5 separate regions of the Homo sapiens genome follow, and regions 2, 3, 4 and 5 are each linked to region 1. The links are contacts of gene promoters, found by promoter capture Hi-C in blood cells and fetal thymus (Javierre and others, 2016). All regions are on one chromosome and are shown on one strand. Each heading gives the region's core, a stretch centred on a gene start or on the middle of the fragment in contact. The rest is flanking DNA. Distances are from core to core; before and after follow the strand shown.

What was found. Contacts are between HindIII fragments. The CHiCAGO score rates a contact against its expected background, and 5 or more counts as called.
Region 2: a fragment that was not itself captured here is called in contact with the fragment with the promoter of IFNAR2 in region 1 in 10 of 17 cell types (activated CD4 T cells, non-activated CD4 T cells, monocytes and 7 more); the score reaches 9.9 in activated CD4 T cells.
Region 3: a fragment that was not itself captured here is called in contact with the fragment with the promoter of IFNAR2 in region 1 in 10 of 17 cell types (neutrophils, monocytes, activated CD4 T cells and 7 more); the score reaches 13.3 in neutrophils.
Region 4: a contact is called between a fragment that was not itself captured here and the fragment with the promoter of IFNAR2 in region 1, in 1 of 17 cell types (neutrophils). The highest score is 5.4, in neutrophils.
Region 5: a fragment that was not itself captured here is called in contact with the fragment with the promoter of IFNAR2 in region 1 in 6 of 17 cell types (non-activated CD4 T cells, naive CD4 T cells, activated CD4 T cells and 3 more); the score reaches 8.9 in non-activated CD4 T cells.

Annotation. Positions count from the first base shown.
Region 1 is chr21:33,228,615-33,231,356 of GRCh38, reverse strand. It overlaps IFNAR2 (interferon alpha and beta receptor subunit 2), which reads right to left and starts at 1,419. Exons shown (of 9, transcript NM_001289125.3): 1 at 1,141-1,419. It overlaps IFNAR2-IL10RB (IFNAR2-IL10RB readthrough), which reads right to left and starts at 1,419. Exons shown (of 13, transcript NM_001414505.1): 1 at 1,141-1,419. RefSeq lists silencers at 953-1,002, 1,023-1,082, 1,143-1,602. The HindIII fragment of the contact is 6,332 bases long and covers 1-2,742 here.
Region 2 is chr21:33,388,600-33,391,299 of GRCh38, reverse strand. No RefSeq gene overlaps it. Among named protein-coding and RNA genes, the nearest start is that of IFNGR2, 13 kb to the left of the region's middle. The HindIII fragment of the contact is 1,207 bases long and covers 663-1,869 here.
Region 3 is chr21:33,405,062-33,407,761 of GRCh38, reverse strand. The region is part of intron 1 of IFNGR2 (interferon gamma receptor 2); the gene reads right to left. Among named protein-coding and RNA genes, the nearest start is that of IFNGR2, 3.0 kb to the right of the region's middle. RefSeq lists a cis regulatory region at 2,616-2,700. The HindIII fragment of the contact is 6,986 bases long and covers 1-2,700 here.
Region 4 is chr21:32,994,326-32,997,025 of GRCh38, reverse strand. No RefSeq gene overlaps it. Among named protein-coding and RNA genes, the nearest start is that of OLIG2, 30 kb to the left of the region's middle. The HindIII fragment of the contact is 441 bases long and covers 1,096-1,536 here.
Region 5 is chr21:33,364,725-33,367,424 of GRCh38, reverse strand. No RefSeq gene overlaps it. Among named protein-coding and RNA genes, the nearest start is that of IFNGR2, 37 kb to the left of the region's middle. RefSeq lists enhancers at 1-170, 171-872, 1-1,022. The HindIII fragment of the contact is 4,490 bases long and covers 1-2,700 here.

The DNA of each region.
Region 1 (2,742 bases), core at 170-2,669:
GAACTTACAAGTTCAAGTCATTTTCTGCGACAAACAGATCAAGCCTTATCAGCTATGCCCTAATTGCTAGGAGTGTTTATCGAATATTTTCCTTAGGGTAGATTTTGATAGAGTATCTGCTACCCCCTCACCCCCTCAAGCCTGCACAGGTGGATAGGGGGTGGGTGGACAGGATACTGAGAAACCTTGGCAAGCAGTGGGACTTAGCCCCTGGGCCAGTGAGCACACATGGGAAACTCCACCTCTCCCTGAGCCAGCTCCGGCACTTCTCACCACTGAATCAACGCCCAAGCATGCTATATTCGTTTCTAAGACTTCTTGCTAAACAAAACAAGGAAATAAAAAAAAAAATGTTAAAAGAAAGGAGGTGGGAATACTCAGAGTCAATATAACCATCGCTAACCAAATAAACGGGCTGATGGAGTCAACTCGCTACTGCGTGTAACGGATTGATTTGCTCAGGGTTGAAATGCAAGTGCCGATCGCCTCTCCATATTCGCGGAGTATCTTCCCAGTATCTCCCCTCTCCGACCCTGGGAGGGTGCACCCTTCTGTCTCCGCGGCCACGTCCCCTCGCCCCTTCCCCCTCCTGCCTCCACGCAGCGGATCCGGAGGGGTGTAGGCCGCTCCAGCCCCGGCTGCAGTCTGTGACCCTGACGCAGGTCGAGGGGGGCTAATCCCAGGGGACCTCAAGGGGGCGGGCTGGAGATCCCGAACCTGAGCACCCAGCTGGTGAGCCGGTTTTGCAAGGCGGGGTGGACCTGGAGGAATGTGACCCTCAAACTTAGCAACGACTCACATCTTGCAGTGGCAAATGCCCGGTATCCTGGGCATCCTTGGTGGGGTGGGGTGGGACGCGGAGGGGTGCAACGAAAGCGGACTCCCAGCAGGGGCGACGCGTGGAGGGCGCAGGACAGGGCCCGGGAGGGGTCCTGGGGTCGCAGGTGCGGCCCCGGGAGAGAGGAAGGGCGCACTAGCCGCATACTCAAGACGCAGAGGGAGGGCAGGAGGAGGAGGAGGAGTCGGGGAGAGCGAGAGGGAACCGGAGGGGATTCCGGGAACCGCTGCAGGGAGGCGGCGTTTTCCCTCCAGTCAGCTGGCCACGCGCTCCGCTCCCGCGACCCCGCCACGCTGCGTTACCTTTGCAGCTCTCGCCTTGCGGCTCCCGAGAGATGCTAGCCTCGGGCCCCAGCCGCGCCCGGCTCTGGGACCCGACGCTCGCGGTCAGGATGCGCCTCGCGGGCGGCCTCTCGGACAGAAGCGGCGGGCGGGGGACAAAAGCGGCCCGTGCGGCCGGGTGGTGGTCCGCGGGCTGCGCTCGGGGAACTGTTCGGCTCGCCGGCGGGATTCCTACCCGCCGGGAAGAAGCGTCTTTAGTGCGGGTGCGCGCGCCGAGCCCCGGCCTACGAGGAGCGATACGGAAGCGCGGGCGCCGCGCCGCCGCCGGCGCGGGGGCGGGGGCGGAGCCAGGGGCGGGGCCGGAGCCAGGGGCGGGTCCTGGGCCGCTGGCGGGGCTGGAGCAGGGCCGGAGGCGGAGGCCGGGCCGGGGGCTGGGCAGGAGAATAGAAAAAAGGTCCGGTCATTTACAATCGTCTGCTGCCGATTGTCAGCTCCTAACCAATCCCGCCTTCGCCGAGAAAGCTCCATAGGGGAAGAATTTGGGACTGTTTTGTTTACTGAAGTATCCTTAGGGGTTAGAATAGTGCCTGGCATTTAGAAGACACCCAAAGATGTGTTGACTGACTGAATGAATGAATGAACTAAAGAGTGAATGGGTTCTCTCCTGGCTCCCCCACTTGTTAATTGTATAAACCTGCATGATATAATTCTCCAACTAGTAAAACGAGGATAAAAATACCTACCATTGAGTAAATGTTGTAAATATCTACAACATTATCCGTTGTAGATTCTCCCCTCTTCTCCGCGGGTCTCTTCTCCATACTCCTACCCTTCCCTCGACCCCCCACTGATCAACGTGTTTCGGGATAGGCAGAAAGACAGATGTTCTTCATTAATTTGTCTGCTTGTTATTTATAGCCTGTCAACTTCTAAAATAGACTATGAGGCCGGGAGCGGTGGCTCACACCTGTTATCTCAGCACTTTGGGAGGCCAAGGCAGATGGACCATCTGAGGTCAGGACTTCAAGACCCAGCCTGACCAACATGGTGAAACCCTGTCTGTACTAAAAATACAAAAATTAGCTGGGCGTGGTGGCGGGCGCCTGTAATCCCAGTTACTTGGGAGCCTGAGGCAGGAGAATTGCTTGAACCTGGGAGGTGGAGGTTGCAGTGAGTTGAGATTGCACCATTGCACTCCAGCCTGGGAGACAAGAGCGAAACTCTGTCTCAAGAAAAACGAAAAAAAAAAGAAAATCCAAAACCAAAATAGACTATGAGGCAGCTTTCAAGTAAAATGTATGTATATTCTAAACATTACAGCTACTAAAATGGAAATGTTAATATCTTTTTGAAGGAGAGGGAAAAGATACACTAACCACCTAAATTGTTTTAACTGAGTATTTAATCTCTCGTTCAGCTTTCTGGCCTCCTAGGAAAGGGAGGAGGAGGATGTTTCATACTTTTTGTAGATGGGAAAAATGAGCCTTTTAATCTATGAAGTCAACCAACATTTGCTGATACTCCTTTAAGGCTAGGCACAAGGGTGATCATAAAGAGGATGTCACGGTCCTGCCTCTTATGTGACCCTTGGCAGAATTCCCACCAGCCCCATACGATCTGAAG
Region 2 (2,700 bases), core at 17-2,516, 160 kb before region 1:
GCCTGTAGTCCCAGCACTTTGGGAGGCTGAGGTGGGCAGATCACTTGAGGTCAGGAGCTCAAGACCAGCCTGGCCAACACAGTGAAACCCCGTCTCTACTAAAAATACAAAAATTAGCTGGGCATGGTGGCACACACCTGTAATCCCAGTTACTCAGGAAGCTGAGACAGGAGAATCACTTGAACCTAGGGTGGAGGTTGCAGTGAGCCAAGATGGCGCCACTGCACTCCAGCCTGGGTGACAGAGCGAGACTCCGTCTCAGGAAAAAATAAAACAAAAAGTAGTACTTGTTCATTGTCAAGGAACTATAAAATACAGAAAAGTATAAAGAAGAAAAAACAATTCCTCCATAATCTTACAATACAGAAATGGCCAAAATTCATATCCTGAAACTCCTCAATTTTTAAGCACCAGCAAAACGGCCAGAAGGCAGCATTATTTCACCCTTTCTGAGAAGTGTGTAGAAACCACACACAGGACAGGAGAGGAAGGAACCTTTTGCTTCTCCTGTGTTTCCAGATTGTATGAAAATCAGGTTGCCTATAGTTTCAGGACATTCTCTACAGGTACAGTCTTGACTTTGCAAAGCCCTGAACACGTCTTGACCAGTGATAAGAGGAGATGCCGAATGCCTCACATTCACTGTCAGCAGCCCTCAAGCTTCAGCCTTCCTTGGCCAGCTCCCGGGTATAGTGACTTCCCAGTACAGTCATGGGCACTGGGCGTAAGCCATTATGTAGAGATTATGCTACATTTTGTGAGTGTTAAATACATCGTTAATGTAATGTCCTTTCTTTTGCAGAATCTTAAACTATTGTCACTGTGAACTTTCTTTTTATCTTGGAAACCTCAAACATCATAGTGTGTGACTTCTAGTGTATCCATACAAAACAGATCCAAGCAAAGCAAACACGAATTCATGTGGGTACCTTTGTGGATGAGGGCAAGAACACAGACAGCCTAGGGGCGGTGGAGCATGTTCAGAAAGGACGCGGTGGTCTGGAATATGGTGCCTTCTCTCCCTTCCTCCCTCCTTCCCTCCCTCGCTTCTTTCATGTATTTAGCACATATTTACTTACTGAGCATCTACTCTGTGCTAGGCACTGTTCTGAGAACAACAGATAAAAACTCTGAGCTTGTGGAGCTTATGTTTTAGTGGCAGCGACAGAGAATGCCCGGTCAATCACTGAACACAGCATCTAGTATCTGGAACCATGGTGATCGTGCAATGCAGAGGACCATGAGTGGACTGCAAGTTGCATTACATCCAGTCCCAGGCGATTCTCTTGGGGTCTGCAGTAGGAGAGTCTGTCAAATCCCCTCCTTTTCCTCTGTTCTGGCATTAGTGGTAGATCCCCAGGTGGCTGGACTCTCTGTGTGGGAGGTGGGGAGCCCCTGGCAGGAACTGGGGTGGCTCCTCTGGTTGTGCTAGACAAGCACCAATCCACAGAGCTTTTCAACATCCCCAAGGCACTTGGGGGGTGTCCACTGAGTGGCAGTTTCTTCTCATCTGTCAATGGGCTGCACCCCCAACTCACAGTCCCATGACCTCCCCTGGCTTGGGGGAGCCTCCACCCTGCCTGGGCCTCCCAGTTCACGCAGTGGGGAGGGCACCATTCCTCCCAGCACAGTCCAGTCCAACACCCAGGGACCTGGGCACATCCATACATGCCTCCTAACTCATTCCCCCAGGTAGCATAGGGGCATCTAGGCAAAGGAAGCTCCAGAACCCACTTTACTCAAGACCCAGGGACATTCCTGTTTTCCAAATGAACATCACTCACATTGCCTAGGAAACAGCCTCACCTCAAAAAACATTGGCTCAAATAAAGGCAACACTACCAGATATGATATTCTAATGCTGAAGCTTGGACTTATCCAAGTATCAAAAAGAGATTCAGCCAGGTGCGGTGGCTCACACCTGTAATCCAAGCACTTTGGGAGGCCGAGGCGGGAGGATTGCTTGAGCCCAGGAGTTCAAGACCAGCATGGATAATGTGGCAAAGCCCCATGTCTCAAAAAAAAAAAAAGAAAAAATTAGAGGCCAGGCACGGTGGCTCACGCCTGTAATCCCAGCGCTTTGGGAGGCCAAGGCGAGCGGATCACCTGAGGTCAGGAATTTGAGACCAGCCTGACCAACATGAAGAAACCCCATCTCTACTAAAAATACAAAATTAGCCAGGCGTGGTGGTGCATGCCTGTAATCCAAGCTACTCAGGAGGCTGAGGCAGGAGAATTGCTTGAACCCAGAGGGCAGAGGTTGCCATGAGCTGGGATCGCTCCATTGTACCCCAGCCTGGGCAACAAGAGTGAAACTCCATCTCAAAAAAAAAAAAAAAAAAAAAAATTAACCGAGCTTGGTGGTGTGCACCTGTAGTCCCAGCTACTTGGGAGGCTGAGGCAGGAGAATCGCCCAGGCCCAGGAGTTCGAGGCTGCAGTGAGCCATGATTGCATCACCACATTCCAGCCTGGGTGATAGAGTGAGACCCTGCCCACTCCTCCGCCAAAAAAAGAGAGAGAGAGACAAACTCATTTACTTTTTTATTCCTCAAAAAATATTTACTAAGCACTTCTTAGATGCCAGGCATTGTTCTAGACACTTGAGATACATCGGTGACCAAAGTGTTGTCGCCACACTTCAACTTCAACCTACTGTAGGACTTTTCTTCCTTCCTTCCATTCTTTCTTTCTTTTAAAAA
Region 3 (2,700 bases), core at 20-2,519, 180 kb before region 1:
TAGCAAAGCATGGTGGCAGGTGCCTATAGTCCCAGCTACTTGGGAGGCTGAGACAGGAGAATCGCTTGAACCTGGGAGATAGAGGTTGCAGTGAGCCGAGATAGCGCCACTGCATTCCCACCTGGGCATCAGGGCGAGACTCCGTCTCAAAAACAACAACAACAACTGGACATCAAGTTATTGACCTAGATTATTTGGCTCTTCCTATCAAGAAAGGTTTGACTTTCCAGGAAGTAAACTAGAGATATAACCTAGTTCGAAAGAATGGCTGAGAAAATTAAGAGAGGTAATGTATATAAAGCACTTGGCATCTCGTCTGACCAATAAATGTTACTATCATGATCGTTTATAAAGGTGGCAAAAGCATTCCAGCTACATGATATTTTCACTTGCTGAGATTATGAACACTCAGGAGCTTACCCAGTGGACATTCACATGCAATGGTTTTTAAGTTGCTGGGGACTTACTGTCTTTCTCGGTGGTCTCTAAGCATATGAGAAGCTCTGGCTGTTCAAGTCAGCAAATAATGATAAAAAATTCTGTGGCACAGTACATATCCAATCCCCTGAAAAAGTCAGCAGCACCTGCTACAATTACAAATAGAAGCCTTAATTCCTCAACACTCAGGTAACTAACTGGTCAGTTGATTTACTGCACTTGTGCTGTTGGTTACATTTTTCTATCTAGCGCAAACGGCCACTACTTAACAGCTCATGGCTACAAATTGCCACAGGTCCCATATTTTACATATTCTACTCTTACAGAACTCTAAGGGATAGATACTATGTCTCCCTTTAAAAAATCTGTTTCCGGAGCCAGGCTGGGTGGTTCACATCTATAATCCTAGCACTTTGGGAGGCTGAGGCGGGTGGATCTCTTGACCCCAGGAGTTCAAAACCAGCCTGGGAAACACGGTGAAACCTCATCTCTACAAAAAAATACAAAAATTAGCCAGGTATGATGGCGTGCACGTGTAGTCCCAGCTACTCAGGAGGCTGAGGTGGGAGGATGGCTTGAGCCCAAGAGGTTGAGACTGCAGTGAGCTGTGATCATGCCACTGCACTGCAGCCTGGGCGATGGAGAGAGATACTATCTCAAAAAAAAAAAAAAAAAGTTTCCAACACTTTTTTTTTTCTCTGACCATAAAAGCAATTTCAAAATTACACCGGTAAGTTATGGGAAAGTGTGAAAACCTTTCTACCACCCATTTGCCATATAATCATTGTGAATATTTTCACTTTGTGTTTTGACTAAAAGAGTGTTTCTTTTGAAGATATCCATTAGGTTTGTTTTTAAGCTGTTTAATGTGAAAATGTTCAAATAGTTGCAAAATAGAGATTAGTTTAAAGCACTACACTACTTTTCTTTTCTTTTTTTTTCTTTTTTTGAGACAGAGTCTTGCTCTGTCACCCAGGCTGGAGTGCAGTTGCATGATTTCGGCTCACTGCAACCTCCCCTCCCAGGTTCAAGTGATTCTCCTGCCTCAGCCTCCCAGGTAGCTGGGATTACAGGCGCCAACCACCACGCCCGGGTAATTTTCGTAGTTTTAGTAAAGAAGGGGTTTTTAACATGTTGGCCACACTGGTCTCTGGAACTTCTGACCTCAGGTGATCTGCTCACCTCTGCCTCCCAAAGTAATGGGATTACAGGCATGAGCCACCGTGCCCAGCTGCTACTACTTTTCAAAGGATCAATGGAGCCAGTTTTTTTATTTGTTTGTTTTTGTTTTTTTGAGATAGAGTCTTGCTCTTGTCGCCCAGGCTGGAGTGCAGTGGTGTGATCTCAGCTTACTGCACCTCTGCCTCCTGAGTTTAAGTGATTCTTCGGCTTCAGCCTCCTGAGTAGCTGGGACACAGGTGTGTACCATCACGCCCCCTAATTTTTGTATTTTTGGTAGAGACGGGGTTTCATCATTGTTGACCAGCCTGGTCTTGAACTCCTGACCTCAGGTGATCCGCCCGCCTCAGCCTCCCAAAGTGCTGGGATTACAGGTGTGAGCCACCGAGCCTGGCCTCACTTTTTAAAATTTTTTTATTTTGCAACATATCACATAGACCAAAACTTTTGTAGAATACAATTAAAGTTAATCATTAACAAGATGGACAGGTAGCTGGATGTTGTGGCAATGTCAGACTATAGTTTCTAAATACATCTTTCAACCTCTGGACTCATCACAGGTAAGTCACAAACAGTCCACAGATCACCACTAGTCACTCCTCTCTGGCATGAAGTCACTCGCCTGCTGATCCCACACTAGGACAATCATCAACTCTCATTAGGAGGAGGCCTAGGGAGGAGGCATATGCAGATTGCTCAAGACGTGAAGCCAAGTGGAAGCAGAGTCAGGATTTGAACCCATCTGTCTGACTCCCATGGAAAAGCAGTTAATAATTTCCTCAAGTGCAAGGCACCCCAGATCAAGGAGATACGGAACTTATGGGCCTTTGCAAGGAATGCCGGTAGAAAAAACAAACCCACAACACAAGGTTATAGCTTCGAATGGGAAGAATCTTCTAAATTCTCGAGACTCCTATGATATCACTCTCCCCAGGGGAAAGAACCCAGCAAAACAAAAGCAGATACATACACAAGAATGTTCTAGCCACACATTTGTCATTAAGGTCTTTTCCTCTTTTTCTTTTTTTTTTTTTTTTTTTTCTGAGACAGAGTCTTGCTCTGTCGCCCAGGCGGGAGTGCAGT
Region 4 (2,700 bases), core at 67-2,566, 230 kb after region 1:
GTGAGCAAAAGAATCTGTGTCATAAATAAGTTCAAGGGAAGGCACTATGCCTGGATGTGCACGTAGGCCAGATTTATGCTTCTCTCCACCCAAACATCTCAGTGTAGCAAAGCGTAACAGAGCAGCATTGCCGCCAGCATATCTCGCCTTCAGCCACAGGGCAGTTTTCTTCTATCTCAGAATAGAACGAATGTATGATTGGGTTTTACACCGAGACATTCCATTCCCAGCGACATGCAGGAGATGGAGGCCTTCCTCTTAACTCAACTGCAAGAGGCCTTCCTCTTTTACTAATCCTCCTCAGCACAGACCCTTTACGGGTGTCGGGCTGGGAGACGGTCAGGTCTTTCCCTTCCCACGAGGCCGTATCTCAGGCTGTCTCAATGGGGGGAAACCTTGGAGAATACCCAAGCTTTCTTGGGCAGAGGTCCCTGTGGCTTTCCGCAGTGCATTGTGCCCCTGGTTAATCGAGAATGGAGAATGGCGATGACTTTTACCAAGCATACTGCCTGTAAACATATTGTTAACAAGGCACATCCTGCACGGCCCTAGATCCCTTAAACCTTGATTCCATACAGCACATGTTTCTGTGAGCACAGGGTTGGGGCTAAAGTTACAGATTAACAGCAAAACAATTTTCTTGGCACAGATCAAGATGGAATTTCTTATGTCTTCCTTTTCTGCATAGACACAGTAACAGTCTGATTTCTCTTTCTTTTCCCTACAAATAAGACACACCACTTTGAAGAGTCCAAGGATGTTGACGTTAAGTGTTGTATGCCAGGAAACAGGGAGGAAGGCCAAATATATATTTTGTAATATCACGTATGTAAACAAATAATATATAAAATTTACATTTATTTATTCCCATCAATTACCAACATATTTAACACTACATCTAATGTAAGGCTTATTGGCTGAATACTGGATACTGGATACTTTGCAAAGGGAAGCAATCATTAGTCACATTGCTCAGTCCTTTCACACTCTGTGGACCTTCAGCAGCTCAGCAGCTGCCTGAAGTTCTCCATTGCTACAAGGTCAGACATTGTTTATCTCACATTTTAGAGGCCACTTCTGCAGGTAACCCAAGCTTAGGTCTACAAAGTAAAGAATTCTCCCTCTTCTCTCCAAGAAAAAACACACAGTGGTAGTTACAGCCTGGGATTATGTCCTGGGATCAGTCATGACGATTCACTCAATTAAACAGCAAATATTTACAGAAGGCCTATTACGTGCCAGGCACTATTCTGGGTCCTGGGGATACAATGGTAACACAATTGACAAATTCTTGCCTTCATAGATCTTATATTCTAGCAAGTGACAGAGTAACACATCTAGTTCAGTTTAGGGACAAATATACTGGAACACTTGAATGGGAAGAAGGGCTGAAGGGGATGGGTTACAATGTATGTCTGCATCTATTGAAACCCTCTCCAGGTAGCACAGCCCTCTCAGGAAAGAAGCAAAAGGTATTCCTTCCTGGTGGATGCCAAGCTCTAAGACTTCCCTTATTATTTGTTTGTTCATTAAGCTTTGAATTACAGTAATATTCAGACAGTCAAAAGTAGAGAGTATAATACAAAGAACAATCAAGTACTCATCAATCAGCTTTGATATATATCAATACAGGATAATCTTGTTCTTCTATATCTGCCTCTGTTCCCACTGTTCCTGGATAATTTGTAGTGAGCCCAGACATTAAGTACTGTTATTTATAAACGTTTCAGTATGCATCTCTAATAGATAATCATTATTTTTAAAAAATCACAATATTTTTATTATACTTAAAAATATTAATCCCTTAATATTATTAAATATTGTCATGTTTATATTTTCCTGGTTGCTTTATATTTTAAAAAATTGATTGTTTGAACCAGAACTGAAATAAGATTCCTACTTTGCATTTGCTTGAAATGACTTATAAATCTCTTTTCTTTATACATTTCCTCTTCTTTCTTTCTTTTTAACCCCTCCATTTTTGTTGTTGAAAAAACGGAGCCATTTGACTTAGAATTTTCCACAGTCCGGAATTCATTGCGTCCCACAGTGTCATTTAACATGCTCTTCTGTCCTTTGTATTTCTATGATTTCTTACATCAGTGTCTTTCTCCAGACCTTTCTTTTTATATTTCTAGTTATTTTCTAAACTGTGCCATCCCTCTTTTCAAGCATTTTTTTTCTCCAGTCACCTTATTTCTGAGCTTTTTTTCTAATTCTGAGGTATGTTATTCTTTCATAGCTTCTATCATTTTCTTAATTTTCTTTAACTTGTTTCATAATATTTGAAATGTTTTGTGGGCATTCCTTTTGGACACGCTTTCATCGTTTTGTAGGAATTTTTTCTGCTCTTTCTTTTCATTTTTTCCTTCTTAACTTTTTATAAGTTTTTACCACAATGCTTTTCTGTTGTTTATTTTCTAAATGAAATGAATTTTCCTATACTTTTAGGAGTGAAGGGTATGCTGGGGCAACCTTTCCAGTTCAAAGGCTCTAGAGCTCCCTCTCCTGTTCCTTTCGCAAGGAAATAAAACAAAAATCTCCAAAGGTTTTGAGAGCTGCCTCTTCTGCTCTGCCCACCCCCATCCCATTTATCTGGATCTTTTTTCCTTGCCTGTATTGATCTGCCCAGATACTCATCAGTGCAAGGCTTTGTATTGGAAGAGACTCTGTTCACTTTGAGGGCATATGGAGCTCAAA
Region 5 (2,700 bases), core at 182-2,681, 140 kb before region 1:
GTAGTTTGTCTGTTAGAGTACAAGGCATGTCTGAACATGTCTGGGCATGTCAGGGCACAATCAGAGCGGAAGAGTTGTTTGCAGGCTAGAAATGAGAGTACAAGGAGGTTGGGCTTCTGAACAAAGAGCAAGAACTTTACACAATTAAACCCTTTGAAGAGGAATTTATCATTCCTAACAATGGGTTTTTTCAAGACTACTCCTGATCTGTCCATCAGGAGATGTATAATGTTTGGCAGTTTCTGTTTTTATAATGTTAGCTGCTGGGTTTTTTCTTTTCTTTTCTTTTTCTTTTTGTTTGAGACAGGGTCTCAATCTGTCACTCAGGCTGGAATGCAGTTGCTTGATCTTGGCTCATTGCAACATGCACCTCCTGGGCTCAAGTGATTCTCCTACCTCAGCCTCCTGAGTAGCTGGGACTCAGGTGTGCACCACCACGCCCAGCTACTTTTTTGTATTTTTTGTAGAGAGGGTTTTTACCATGTTGCCCAGTCTGGTCTCAAACTCCTGGGCTCAAACGATCCACCTGCCTCGGCCTCCCAAAGTGTTGAGATTACAGGAGTGAGCCACCACGCCCAGTCAATGTTAGCTGCTGTTGATTGTAAACTGAAAAGTATCTGAGACAGGTCTCAATTGAGAAGTTTACTTTGCCAAGGTTAAGGACAATGCCCAGGAGACAGGTCTGTGCCTTTCTCCAAAGATGATTTTGAGGGCTTCAATATAAGGGAAAAAACAGGCTGGTATGGAAAGAAGGAGGGTATGGTCACATTATCGAATCCACAAGTTGCAAGAGAAAAGGAGCAGGTAGGGGAATAGTCAATTTCAATTATGTATTCCTTGTATGCTCAGAAAATCAGCACTTTACAGAAGATAAGGTGAACACAGAGTAGGTTAAATATCCCCCCCAAGACACTTACCTTTACCTCTAGCTCTCTGCTTAGGAACAAAAGGAAAGGCAGCTTCTTGCATGACTCAGCTTTCAGCTTAGTTTTTTTCTTTTGGCAGAGTGAATTGGAGTCCCGAGTTTTTATTTTCCTTTCATATCATGCTCAGCAACTAGATAGAGATAATTTTTGATAAATGTTCACTAAATAGCTTTTGACCTATAAATCAGAAAGAATCCAAAGACTCGAGTGGAGGTGACACTTTGGGATTCCTTCCAAGCCCATCACAAAGCCTCACCCCAAAACATGGAAAACAGGAGCAGCAGAGGCACTAGGTCCTGTCTCCATGTGGCAAGAAGGCATGTTCATCTGTGACACCTGCAGGCATTGAAGGAAGAGGGAAGAAGCTCCATCCAGTTAATTAAGAGATGTATTTCCAGGCAGGGTGTGGTGGATCATGCCTGTAATCCCAGCACTTTGGGAGGCTGAGGCAGGCAGATCACTTGAGGCCAGGAGTTCAAGACCAGCCTGGCCAATATGGTGAAACCCTGTCTCTACTAAAAATCCAAAAAATTAGCCAGGCATGGTGGCATGCACTTGTAATCCCACTTGCTCGAGAGGCTGAGGCAGGAGAATCGCATGAACCCAGGAGGCAGAGGTTGCAGCAAGCTGAGATAGCACCACTGCACTCCAGCCCTGGGTGACAGAGCGAGACTCTGTCTCAAAATAAATAAATAAGTAAATAAATAAAAGAGATGCATTTCCAGTGAAATTGGACTTTTTATGCTGAAAAATTATTTATCAAAGGTTATGAAATATTTGATCAACTGTATACTAATAATTGCAATAATAATCCAGAAAAGCTATTTTTCTTTCTTTCTTTTTTTTTTTGAGATGGAGTCTCACTCTGTCCCCCAGGCTAGAGTGCAGTGGCTTGATCTTGGCTCACTGCAACCTCTGTCACCAGGGTTCAAGTGATTCTTCTGCCTCAGCCTCCTGAGTAGCTGGGATTACAGGCTCCTGCCACCGTGCCCAGCTAATTTTTGTATTTTTAGTAGAGACGGGGTTTCACCATTTGGCCAGGCTGGTCTTGAACTACTGACCTCGTGATCCACCCACCTCGGCCTCCCAAAGTGCTGGGATTACAAGCATGAGCCACCGCACCCAACCAGATTTTTTTCTTTTTAACATTCAGAGACTATGATCATATAAAAAGAAATATATCAATTTATATACTTTTTTGTTGCAAAGATATACGATAGATGATCAATAAATCTACTGCATGAAGATGAACTTTTGTGGGAATAAGAATATGAATTCAAGGAGGAAAGGAAATGGTGTAAAGTTTCAGAACCCATAAAGAACAGTTTCTGGAGTTTCTTTTTAAAAAAATTTTTAAAAAAATATTTCTGAGACAGGGTCTTGCTCTGTTGCCCAGGCTGGAGTGCAGTGGCACAATGTTGGCTCACTATACCTTGACCTCCAGGGCTCAAGAGATCCTCCTACCTCAGCTTCCCAAGTAGCTAGAATTGCAGGCACACACCACCACACCTGGCTAATTCTGTTCATTTTTTTGTAGAGACAAGGTCGTCTCACTATGTTGTCCAGGATGGTTTTGAACTCTTGGACTCAAACAATCCTCTCGCCTCGGCCTCCCAAAGTGCTGGGATTACAGGAGTGAGCCGCCATGTCTGGCCGAGTTTCTGTAATTTCAAAGTAGACAATGATGGGTATCAAATTGCTTTGATAGGAGATTCCATTGAATGCATTTATAAGAGCGATAAAGCAAGTTTATTTTAAAATGTGAATATTTACA